2 separate regions of the Homo sapiens genome follow, and region 1 is linked to region 2. The links are contacts of gene promoters, found by promoter capture Hi-C in human tissues and cell types (Jung and others, 2019). All regions are on one chromosome and are shown on one strand. The core of a region is centred on a gene start or on the middle of the fragment in contact, and the rest is flanking DNA. Distances in the headings are between cores, read along the strand shown.

Region 1 (6,193 bases), core at 2,537-5,036, 250 kb after region 2:
AGATAGTGAGCATGGTACTCAGCAGTTAGTTTTTTTAACCTCTGTCCCCCCATTAGTCTCCAGTGTCTATTATTGCCTTGTTTATATCCGTAAGTTCCCAATGTTGGCCAGGCACGGTGGCTCACACCTGTAATCCCAGCACTTTGGGAAGCCGAGGCGAGTGGATCATGAGGTCAGGAGTTCGAGACCAGCCTGGCCAACATAGTGAAACCCCGTCTCTACTAAAAATACAAAAATTAGCTGGGCATGGTGGCACACACCTGTAGTCCCAGGTACTGGGGAGGCAGAGGCAGGAGAATTGCTTGAACCCAGGAGGCGGAGGTTGTGGTGAGCTGAGATCATGCCACTGCACTCCAGCCTGGTGACAGAGCAAGTCTCCATCAAAAAAGAATAATAATAACAAAAAATAAATAAATACCAAAGTTCCCAATGTTTAACTCCCACTTGTAAGTGGGAATGTGCAGTGTTGGAATTTCTGTTCCTCTGTTATTTTGCTTAGGATAATGGCCTCCAGCTGCATCAATTTTGCTGCAAATGACATACTTTCAATCTTTTTTATGACTGCATATGTATTCCATGGTGTATATGTTCATTTTCTTTTTCCAGTCTACCACTGATGGGCACCTAAGTTGATTCCATGTCTTTGCTATTGTGAATAGTACTGTGATAAACATTTGAGTATGTGTCGTGTTGGTAGGATGATTTATTTTCTTTGGATATATACCCAGTAATGGGATTGTTGGGTTGAATGGTGGCTCTGTTTCAAGTTGTTGAGGAAATCTCCAAACTGCTTTCCACAGTAGCTGAACTAATTTTTACTCCCACCAACATGGATAAGTGTTCCCTTTTCTCTGCAGCTTCTCTAGTATCTGTTATTTTTTGACTTTTTAATTATAGCTATAATGAAGTAAAACACCCCTCAGCAAATGCAAAAGAATGGAAATCACAATGAACAGTCTCTCAGACCACAGTGCAATCAAATTAGAACTCAGGATTAAGAAATTCACTCAAAACCACTCAACTACATGGAAACTGAACAACCTGCTCCTGAATGACTACTGGGTAAACAATGAAATTAAGGCAGAAATAAATAAGATCTTTGAAACCAATGAGAACAATGACACAATGTACCAAAATCTCTAGCATACAGCTAAAGCAGTGTTAAGAGGGAAATTTATAGCACTAAATGCCCACATCAGAAAACTGGAAAGATCTAAAATCGACACGCTAACATGACAATTAAATGAACTAGAGAAGCAAGAGCAAACAAATTCAAAAGCAAGCAGAAGACAAGAAATAACTAAAATCAGAACAGAATTGAGGAAGATAGAGACACGAAAAACCCTTCAAAAAAATCAATGAATCCAGGAGCTGGTTTTTTGAAAAGATTAACAAAATAGATAGACCACTAGCCAGACTAATAAAGAAGAAAAGAGAGAAGAATCAAATAGACACAATAAAAAATGATAAAGGGGATATCACCACTGATCCCACAGAAATGCAAACTACCATCAGAGAATACTATAAACACTTCTATGCAAATGAACTAGAAAATATAGAAGAAATGGATAAAGTCTGGGACACATACATCCTTCCAAGACTAAACCAGGAAGAAGTCAAATCCCTGAATAGACCAATAACAAGTTCTGAAATTAAGGCAGTAATTAATAGCCTATCAACCAAAAAAAAGCCCAGGACCAGACAGCTTCACAGCCAAATTTTACCAGAGGTACAAAGAGGAGATGGTACTATTCCTTCTGAAACTATTCCAAACAATAGAAAAAGAGGGACTCCTCCCTAACTCACTTTATGAAGCCAGCCTCATCCTGATACCAAAACCTGGCAGAGACACAGAAACAAAGAAAATTTCAGGGCAAAATCTCTAATGAGTATCGATGAAAAAATCTTCAGTAAAATACTAGCAAACTGAATCCAACAGCACATCAAAAAACTTATTCACCACAATCAAGTTGACTTCATCCCTGGGATGCAAGGCTAGTTCAACTTACACAAATCAATAAATGTAATCCATCACATAAACAGAACCAATGACAAAAACCACATGATTATCTCAATAGATGCAGAAAAGGCCTTCGATAAAATTCAACACCTCTTTATGCTAAAAACACTCAATAAACTAGGTATTGATGGAACATATCTCAAAATAAGAGCTATTTATGAGAAACCCACAGCCAATATCATACTGAATGGGCAAAAGCTGGAAACATTCGTTTTGATAACCAGCACAAGACAAGGATGCCCTCTCTCACCATTCTTGTTCAACATAGCATTGGAAGTTCTGGCCGGGGCAATCAGGCAAGAGAAAGAAATGAAGGTATTCAAATAGGAAGAGAGGAAGTCAAATTGTCTCTGTTTGCAGATGACATGATTGTATATTTCTAAAACCCCATTGTCTCATCCCAAAATCTCCCTAAGCTGATAAGCAACTTCAGCAGTCTCAGGATACAAAATCAATGTGCAAAAATCACAAGCATTCCTATACACCAATAATAGACAGAGAGCTAAATCATGAGTGAACTCCCATTCACAATTGCTACAAAGAGAATAAAACACCTAGAAATACAACTTACAAGGGACGTGAAAGCCCTCTTCAAGGAGAATTACAAACCACTGCTCAAGGAAATAAGAGAGAATACAAACAAATGAAAAACTTTCCATGTTCATGGATAGGAAGAATCAATATCATGAAAATGGCCATACTGACCAAAGCAATTTATAGATTCAATGCTATTCCCATCAAGCCACCATTGACTTTCTTCACAGAGCTAGAAAAATCTACTATAAATTTCTTTTTTTCTTTTTAATTATACTTTAAGTTTTAGGGTACATATGCACAACGTGCAGGTTTGTTACATATGTGTACATGTGCCATGTTGGTGTGCTGCACCCATTAACTCATCATTTAACATTAGGTATATCTCCTAATGCTATCCCTCCCCCCTCCCCCACCCCCCAACAGGCCCTGGTGTGTGATGTTCCCCTTCCTGTGTCCATGTGTTCTCATTGTTCAATTCCCACCTATGAGTGAGAACATGCGGTGTTTGGTTTTTCATATGGAACCAAAAAAGAGCCCATATAACAAACACAGTCCTAGGCAAAAAGAACAAAACTGGAGGCATCATGCTACCTGACTTCAAACTATACTACAAGGCTAGAGTAACCAAAACAGCATGGTAGTGATACCAAAACAGATATATAGACCAATGGAACAGAACAGAGGCCTCAGAAATAATACCACACATCTACAACCACCTGATCTTCAGCAAACCTGACAAAGACAAGCAGTGGGGAAAGGACAACCTATTTAATAAATGGTGCTTGGAAAACTGGCTAGCCATATGCAGAAAACTGAAACTGGACCCCATCCTTATACCTTATACAAAAATTGACTCAAGATGGATTAAAGATTTAAACATAAAACTTGAAACATAAAAACCCTAGAAGAAAACTAGGCAATACCATTCAGGACCTAGCCATGGGCAAAAACTTCATGACTAAAACACCAAAAGCAATGTTAACAAAAGCCAGAATTGACAAATGGGATCTAATTAAACTAAAGAGCTTCTGCACAGCAAAAGAAACTATCATCAGAATGAACAGGGAACCTACAGAATGGGAGAAAATTTTTGCAATCTATCCATCTGACAAAGGGCTAATATCCAGAATCTACAAGGAAGTTAAATTTACAAGAAAAAGACAACCCTATCAAAAAGTGGGCAAAGGATATGAACAGACAGTTCTCAAAAGAAGACATTTATGCAGCCAACAAACATATGAAAAAAAGCTCATCATTGCTGGTCATTAGAGAAATACAAATCAAAACCACAATGAGGTATCATCTCACGTCAGTTAGAATGGTGATCATTAAAAAGTCAGGAAACAATAGATAGGGAGGATGTGGGGAAATAGGAATGCTTTTACACTGTTGGTGGGAGTGTAAATTAGTTCAACCATTGAGTAAGACAGTGGTGATTCCTCAAGGATCTAGCATCAGAAACAGCGTTTGACCCAGCAATCCCACTACTGGGTATATACCCAAAGGATTATACATCATTCTGCTATAAAGACACATGCACGTGTATGTTTATTGCGGCACTGTTCACAATAGCAAAGACTTGGAAGCAACCCAAATGTCCATCAATGATAAACTGTGTAAAGACAATGTGGCACATATATACCATGGAATATTATGCCTCCATAAAAAAGAATGAGTTCATGTCCTTTACAGGGACATGAATGAAGCTGGAAACCATCAGTCTCAGCAAACTAATACAAGAACAGAAAACTGGGCCGGGGGCAGTGGCTCACGCCTGTAATCCCAGCACTTTGGGAGGCTGAGGCGGGCGGATCACGAGGTCAGGAGATCGAGACCATCCTGGCTAACATGGTGAAACCCTGTCTCTTCTAAAAATACAAAAAATTAGCCGGGCGCGGTGGCAGGCACCTGTAGTCCCAGCTACTTGGGAGGCTGAGGTAGGAGAATGGCGTGAACCTGGGAGGAGAAGCTTGCAGTGAGCTGAGATAGAGATTGCACCACTGCAGTCTGGCGTGGGTGAAACAGTGAGACTCCATCTCAAGAAAAAAAAAAATAAAGAACAGAAAACCAAACACGGCATGTTCTCACTCACAAGTGGGAGTTGAACAATAATAACACATGGACACAGGGAGGGGAACATCACACACTGGGTCTTGTTGGGGGTAGGGGGCAAGGGGAGGGAGAGCACTAGGACAAATACCTAATGCGTGTTGGGCTTAAAACCTAGATGAGGGTTGATGGGTGCAGCAAACTACTATGGCACATGTATACCTCTGTAACAAACTTGCACATTCTGCACATGTATCCCAGAACTTAAAGTATAATAAAAAAGATAATAATAATAGCTATAATGACTGGTATGAGATGGTATCTCATTGTGGTTTTGATTTGCATTTATCTGACCATTAGTGATGCTGAGCACGTTTTCATATGTTTGATGGCCACTTGTATGTCCTTGTTTTGAGAAGTGTCTGTTCATCCTTTTTGCCCACTTTTTAATGGGGTTGTTTTTTGCTTGTTGATTTAAGTTCCTTATAGATTCTGGATATTAGACCTTTGTCAGATGCATAGTTTGTGAATATTTTCTCCCATTCTATAGGTTGTCTGTTTACTCTGTTGTTAGTTTCTGTTGCTGTGCAGAAGCTCTTTGGTTTACTTAGATCCCACTTGTCAATTTTTGTTTTTGTTGAAATTGTTTTAAGGCCAATGTCCACAAGGGTGTTTCCTAGGTTTTCTTCTAGAATTTTCTTTCTTTCTTTTTATTTTTTTTTTATTTTTGAGATGGAGTGTTACTCTGTCACCCAGGCTGGAGGGCAGTGGCACAATCTCGATTCACTGCAACCTCCACCTCCCAGGTTCAAGTGATTCTCCTGCCTCATCCTCCCAAGTAGTGGGATTACAGGCATAAGACACCATGCCCAGCTAATTTTTTTATTTCTAGTAGAGATGGGGTTTCACCATGTTGGCCAGGTGGGTGCCGAACTCCTGACCTCAGGTGATCCACCCACCTCAGCCTCCCAAAGTGCTGGGATTACAGATGTAAGCCACCATGCCTAGCTTCTTCTAGGATTCTTACAGTTTGAGGTCTTATATTTAAATATTTAATCTGTCTTGAGTTAATTTTTATATATGGTAAGAGAGGTCCAGTTTCATTCTTTTGCATATGTCTAGACAGCAATCCCAGCACCAATTATTGAATAGGGAGTCCTTTCCCCATTGCATATTTTCATCAACTTTGTCAAAGATCAGATGGCTGTAGGTGTGCAGCTTTACTTCCAGGCTCTCTATTCTGTTCCATTGGTTTATTTGTCTGTTTTTATACTAGTACCATGCTGTTTGGACTACTTAGCCTTATAATATAGTTTGTAGTCAAGGAATGTAATGTGATGCTTACAGCTTTGTTTTTGTTGTTGTTGTTGTTGTTTGTTTGTTTGTTTTTGCTTAGATTGCTTTGGTTATGCAGTCTCTTTTTCAGTTCTATATGAATTTTAGAATAGTGGGAATTTTTTTTACTCTGTAAACAATAACATTGGTAGCTTAATAGGAATAGTGTTGAATCTGTAGATTGCTTTGGTAAGTATGGCCATTTTAATAATATTAATTCTTCTAATCCACGAGCATGGAATGTTTTTTATT
Region 2 (6,468 bases), core at 3,025-5,524:
GGTAGAAAAAAAAAAATCATAGCCTTACTGGCAAAAAGTTCCAGAGACTGGAGTTAAGGCTTGAAAAGCCACTGCAAATTTAAGTAGGAAATCTTGGTAATGAGAACCAGAGAAGAAATGAGATAGAACTACCCAAATTCATGTCTCACAGCAAACTCTGCATGAGTGAAGGAGACCACATGAAGCCTGAGGAAAAAGCAAGCAAAGACCAGATAGAAATCTAGTCCCAGCACTTTGGGAGGTCAAAGTGGGAGGATCATGATGTTAGGAAATCGAGACCATCCTGGCTAACATGGTGAAACCCTGTCTCTACTAAAAATACAAAAAATTAGCCAGGCGTGGTGGTGGGCGCCTGTAGTCCCAGCTACTTGGGAGGCTGAGGCAGGAGAATGGCGAGAATCTGGGAAGCGGCGCTTGCAGTGAGCCAAGATTGCACCACTGCATCCAACCTGGATGACAGAGTGAGACTCCGTCTAAAAAAAAAAAAAAAAAAAAAAAAAAACAAAACACACACAAAAACCATTATTCAAGAATACATCTACTTTGATTACTTTGATGCTTTACTTAAGGGGATGTATTCCTCCCTGTGCTGTGTGTACTTTGGGTGGGAGAAAGCTGAAGCTTCAGAAACTTTAAATGTCAGGGAATAGCCCTAAGCTGGCAGAGTAGCTGCAAATAAGAGGAGAATCCCTAGAATCAAGGAACCCACACAGAAGGTGATCTCCATTGCTAACTGACCAGCAAATTACACAGGCATAGGGAAATCAATCTCTAGGAAGCCAAGCTAAAAGAGCATGGAAAACCATGAGAATGAAGCAGAGATACCAAGAGCAGCATGCCCCATGGGAGGCAATATTGGCAGTTTGAATCCGGACAAGTTAACTGTCAAACAGAGCAAACAAACATAAAATAGATAATACTCAGGGAAAAAAACCCGGTAGACTCCAGAGTCATTACAATATATTACAATGTCCAGTTTTCAATTAAAAAAAACAGGCATGTAAAGAATAGGAAGAAAAGACAGCAGAAAAGGCATTCATAGAAAGGGACTCTTTGATCTAGCAAAGACTTCTAGGCATTGCTTTTATTTTGATACAGTAATTACATTGATTGATGTTTAAATGTTAAGTCTACATTGCACTGTACTTCCATGACAATCATTCTGAGAAGACAAAAGCCATGGGATCAGTGTTTCTCCTGTTATTTGGCACTTAGAATCAGTAATTTTGCACTAAAATATAAACCCCATGAATATAGGCACTGTTATGTATTGCTTTTGTATCCCTAATGACTGAAACAGTGTCTGACATAGATTGGGTGCTCAATGAATGGTTATTGAATGAATGAATGACTAAAATATAAACTAAAATTACTGGTTGGCTCCATGAAGAAAGACTTTCAGATATTTTCCATCCATAGTGAGGCAATCAAAGGCTGATCATGTGACTCATTATTAATCTTATTTTGTATCCATATTTAAGATTTTTAAATAGATGTTTAATAGAAGTAAATAGCAAAATAAATTCATCATCACTAGCTAAATATTGACATACATTATACATTTTAAGCTGTAGGGTACAATTAAGTAATCTGTGAATTTAAAACATGTCCAGGTTAGAATTTCATTGAAAACATAATAGGTGAATATATACTTTAAATTAAAAAAAAATGAATATCTGGTCTTTCAGTTTAATCCTCTACTGGTTTATTGACTGTTAAACAAAGTTGCCAATTTGTAACCTCAAAGGAAAACAAAGTGACCACAATTATGTACTGATAAGTAGATCTCTAGGAAAGAAATCAGAGATTCCCTAAGCAAAGCATCCATTGGCCCTATGGAAATTCTCTTTAAAACAGCATAAAGCATGTTATTAGCCTTTTGGTCACTAGAGGGTGGTGTTGTTTCAGACCAACACAATTCACACTATATCCGTAGTAACTGACCAGAAAGTACCAACCAGAATCCAACTGCCAGCTTCACACTGTTACTCCACAAAACCTCACAGTCACTTGTTTACAAGGTGAATAGCTAAAGGCAGACAATATAGGATGAAGCAAAGTGCTGAAAGAAGAGAAATACCCAAATTATCTGAAATGCAACACATTTTGTTCATTGGCATAGAGGTTAGTGAGAGGCTAACAATTCTTTACTAATACATGCCCCGACGCTTACCATGCTTATCAAGTCCAATTGGCTACAGCAAGCACTTCAGTGGGAGAAGTAAAAGTTTCAAAGAAGTCAAATATTTGTGAATAAAAATGAGAATAGTTTTTGATGTAACTGGAAAAAGATAAGCCTTGCTTCCTTTGCTGTGTGAATGGTGATATGGTCTTAAATTTTAAATATTGAATTACACTAGAATTTTACTAACTATAGATGGTATAAACTTGATAGCCACTTTCATCCAAATGCTTTGGATAAAGCTTTGTCTAAGAATAACCTCAAATATTATTTTATTTTCAAATGATATTAGGCTAGAAAAATACTATCCCAAATACAGGTTTGAGATTAATTCAAAATAATAAGACAAAAGTTTACGGAAGATTTTAGAATCAAACCATTTCACCCTTCCTAGCTGTTGTTCCCATTGTAAACGTGACATTTTAGTCAGTAAAACGCAAAAGTGCAAAACATTTTTAAATGACAGCAAAACACAAAATGAAATTCATGTTGTGATTAATGCATCTTATTAAAATGGAGTTTAAGTTGCATTCTTGCTTTTCCTTCTTTAAAAAACATATAATGTTATAGTGATATTTTTTCAAACTCTCATACAGAATCAAGACAACAGCACATAAAGTATGCAGAGGGACATATCCCATTCTTACCTCTTAACAGTAATTTAAAAGTTAAGAACACCCATACAGAACATCAGCTAAGCTAGGAAAGGCAAAACTGATTGGGCTTGTTCTGAAAGTTGATCTGTGTCAATCAAAATAATGGTCTTTAGAGTGCTATATGATTAAGTCTAATTTCTTAAATATGAGGAAAAATGAACTTTGCAATTATTTTTAAAAATCTTTTCATCTCTTAGACAGTGTAAAAAGGCAAAAAGCAAAAAACACAAGACTTTCCCAAGATTAGGGGAAGATGATCTCACCGTTAATATTCATCTGCTGAGAGCAGTTATGGGACCCATGTCAGGAATACATGCTTCAAATAAGATGGGACTTGAGAATTGCTGAGAGACTTCAGGAACATTCTTTAACTTCATGGGGCCTCAGTTACCCCACCTTTAAGGGAAATAATAATAGCAATAGTACCTTGGAGGATTTCTGTGATAAAATGAGAAAATGCTTGTGAGAAGTACATAAAATATTGGCTTACTGAAAGATGTTACGAGGCAAGCAAGTATGCCTATTTTCATTCAATGTTTATTATTTCAAAGGCAAAGTTTCCATATAGATTAAGGCCTTCATAACATCTGAATACCTTTTCTAGTTCTTATTGTATGAAGATAAGAAGGATGGTTGGAGGCTTTGTAAGGAATACCTTTCTCTTCTGCTCCCCTCTCACTCCCATAGGCTGGGAGCAGTTGATTTCACTACCTCAGATATGCAAATTGATGCCACCTTCCTGTAGCCACTTTTGCCATAGCTGACCTTTTTGTTGGGTGGTGGGGAGGGGAGCGGGCAGGATTAGGCGAGGGGTAGTAGTTGGGATTTCTTGGTCTTGGAATTCAACCATCCGATGTATTTGTTTCCCTGTGTCTATTCCCTTAAGTCTACAGGCACTGTCTAGTAATTTTATAGTTTTCAGCGGCACCCCAGGGGACAGGACACCTTGGCCTTTTTATAATCACTCTAGAGTCACAAAGCAGAAAGGAAAAAAGTTAACGATCAGCTATGCAAAGGCTTGTGTGGATTGCTTAAGGACAGGCGATTTTCACTTTACCAGAGTTACTAAAGGACTTCAGGAGAAGGATCCCGTCCCTGTAGGAGCGTTTGTGGTTGAAGAAGCAGGAGGACGAGCGCTCAGGTGCGCCTCGGCAGTTTGCCTGGGGTCCGCAAGTCCAGTGCTACTTATTAGCTGCTTGCCGTCCACCGACACTTTAGCGGAGAACTGGAGGAGACCCCAGTGGGCTCCCGGTCCGGCCAGGAGCAGGGCGTTTCAGAGGAGACCGTCTGGGGCTTCCCAACCCAGGCGATCAGGATAGGCAACAGCCAAGAGAGGCGCTCAGTTGCTTTGCACCCTCCTCCCACCTCGGTTCTGTCCACACCCACGGGCGCCCCGCCCCCTCGGCCTTATAAAGGGGACTCGGCACCTCCGCGCGCCTCGCCACCAGAGGTTTCCCAGAGAGGAAGGCGTGGCTCCCTCCCGGGCCAGTGAGCCCTGGCGCCGCCGCGGCCGCGGTCCCAGCAGCGGAGTAGGGCGGCGGCTGCGCCCCGCACCATGGGGGGCAGCCCAGCCCCAGCCGCGGTAAACGCCGACCTCCGCCGCCGCCCGCGCCGCGTCTGCCCCCTCCCGCTGCGGCTCTCTGGACGCCATCCCCTCCTCACCTCGAAGCCAACATGAAGGAGACCCGGGGCTACGGAGGGGATGCCCCCTTCTGCACCCGCCTCAACCACTCCTACACAGGCATGTGGGCGCCCGAGCGTTCCGCCGAGGCGCGGGGCAACCTCACGCGCCCTCCAGGGTCTGGCGAGGATTGCGGATCGGTGTCCGTGGCCTTCCCGATCACCATGCTGCTCACTGGTTTCGTGGGCAACGCACTGGCCATGCTGCTCGTGTCGCGCAGCTACCGGCGCCGGGAGAGCAAGCGCAAGAAGTCCTTCCTGCTGTGCATCGGCTGGCTGGCGCTCACCGACCTGGTCGGGCAGCTTCTCACCACCCCGGTCGTCATCGTCGTGTACCTGTCCAAGCAGCGTTGGGAGCACATCGACCCGTCGGGGCGGCTCTGCACCTTTTTCGGGCTGACCATGACTGTTTTCGGGCTCTCCTCGTTGTTCATCGCCAGCGCCATGGCCGTCGAGCGGGCGCTGGCCATCAGGGCGCCGCACTGGTATGCGAGCCACATGAAGACGCGTGCCACCCGCGCTGTGCTGCTCGGCGTGTGGCTGGCCGTGCTCGCCTTCGCCCTGCTGCCGGTGCTGGGCGTGGGCCAGTACACCGTCCAGTGGCCCGGGACGTGGTGCTTCATCAGCACCGGGCGAGGGGGCAACGGGACTAGCTCTTCGCATAACTGGGGCAACCTTTTCTTCGCCTCTGCCTTTGCCTTCCTGGGGCTCTTGGCGCTGACAGTCACCTTTTCCTGCAACCTGGCCACCATTAAGGCCCTGGTGTCCCGCTGCCGGGCCAAGGCCACGGCATCTCAGTCCAGTGCCCAGTGGGGCCGCATCACGACCGAGACGGCCATTCAGCTTATGGGGATCATGTGCGTGCTGTCGGTCTGCTGGTCTCCGCTCCTGGTAGGTAGTTCCAGGGTTGGGGGAAGTCAGGATGCGTGTGCGAGTAAGCGGGAACCTAAGACTTTGCTAAGTGGCAGCACCCGCAGGGGTGTGTTTGCAACCGCAGAGCGCTGAAGTGTCCTTTCCTCCTGCCCGCGCGGTCTTGGTTACAGCTTCAGAGCTGAGCTCCTCACTTACTAGCTGAGCGCCTTCCAAGAGCCAGGATTCGCATTAGGCACTGTTTATGAGCACATAGAGATCACAGGGCTGCTCACATTCTAGTCGGGTAGGAGACAGGATGTGTCATTGAAATGACATATATGCAGAGCTAGAAGTTTGTCCTGAGTGCATTAAAAGCAGAATTGCTATGATAACTGTAGCCTGATATTGTGGGGTTTTTTTTTTTTTTTTTTTTTGAGACGGAGTCTCGCTCTGTCACCCAGGCTGGAGTACAGTGGCGCAGCCTCGGCTCACTGCAAGCTCCGCCTCCCGGGTTCACGCCATTCTCCTGCCTCAGCCTCTCCGAGTAGCTGGGACTACAGGCGCCCGCCACCACGCCCGGCTAATTTTTTTTTTTTATTTTTAGTAGAGACGGGGTTTCACCGTGGTCTCGATCTCCTGACCTCGTGATCCACCCGCCTCGGCCTCCCAAAGTGCTGGGATTACAAGCGTGAGCCACCGCGCCCGGCCGGGTTTTTTTTTTTTAATTTCAAATTCCTCTTTCACGTTAATAAGATTTTCAGTCTGCAACCCCATACAGTCACAGCCCTCCTGCAGCTTCTGAAAGACTGCGCGACCTATGGGTGCCTTCAAGGTTCATTCTTGATGAGGCAGGAGAATGAAAGATACGAGTTGCCTCCTCAGCCTTTCGCCATGGTGCTTGACCCTCTAGGAAGTGCCCGAACGACAGTCAGTGGGATCCGGAAGCTCAGCAGCTTCTTCAGGCCAGCATTTACTTACCCTTGTAGCACTCAAGCAGGGTTCGCTAATCCTGAGATAGGAGGTAGAGGTTTCTCCATGTCCTAGCTCCTCACACCAGAGCAATGCAGAGGAGCAAGGGATGTTTGCAGAGGCTCTTTG

The links. The method cuts DNA at HindIII sites, captures the fragments that hold promoters and counts their contacts. A contact is called where the count stands out against the background at its distance.
Region 1: a fragment that was not itself captured here is called in contact with the fragment with the promoter of PTGER3 in region 2 in 2 of the 25 tissues and cell types used here (H1 embryonic stem cells and heart left ventricle).

What each region holds. Positions count from the first base shown.
Region 1 is chr1:70,794,075-70,800,267 of GRCh38, reverse strand. No RefSeq gene overlaps it. Among named protein-coding and RNA genes, the nearest start is that of LINC01788, 91 kb to the right of the region's middle. The HindIII fragment of the contact is 8,802 bases long and covers 1-6,193 here.
Region 2 is chr1:71,045,622-71,052,089 of GRCh38, reverse strand. It overlaps PTGER3 (prostaglandin E receptor 3), which reads left to right and starts at 4,274. Exons shown (of 4, transcript NM_198719.2): 1 at 4,274-5,409. The coding sequence starts at 4,513. It overlaps ZRANB2-AS1 (ZRANB2 antisense RNA 1), which reads right to left and starts at 5,584. Exons shown (of 3, transcript NR_038420.1): 1 at 4,501-5,584; 2 at 3,102-3,276. RefSeq lists an enhancer at 4,277-4,860. The HindIII fragment of the contact is 12,323 bases long and covers 1,524-6,468 here.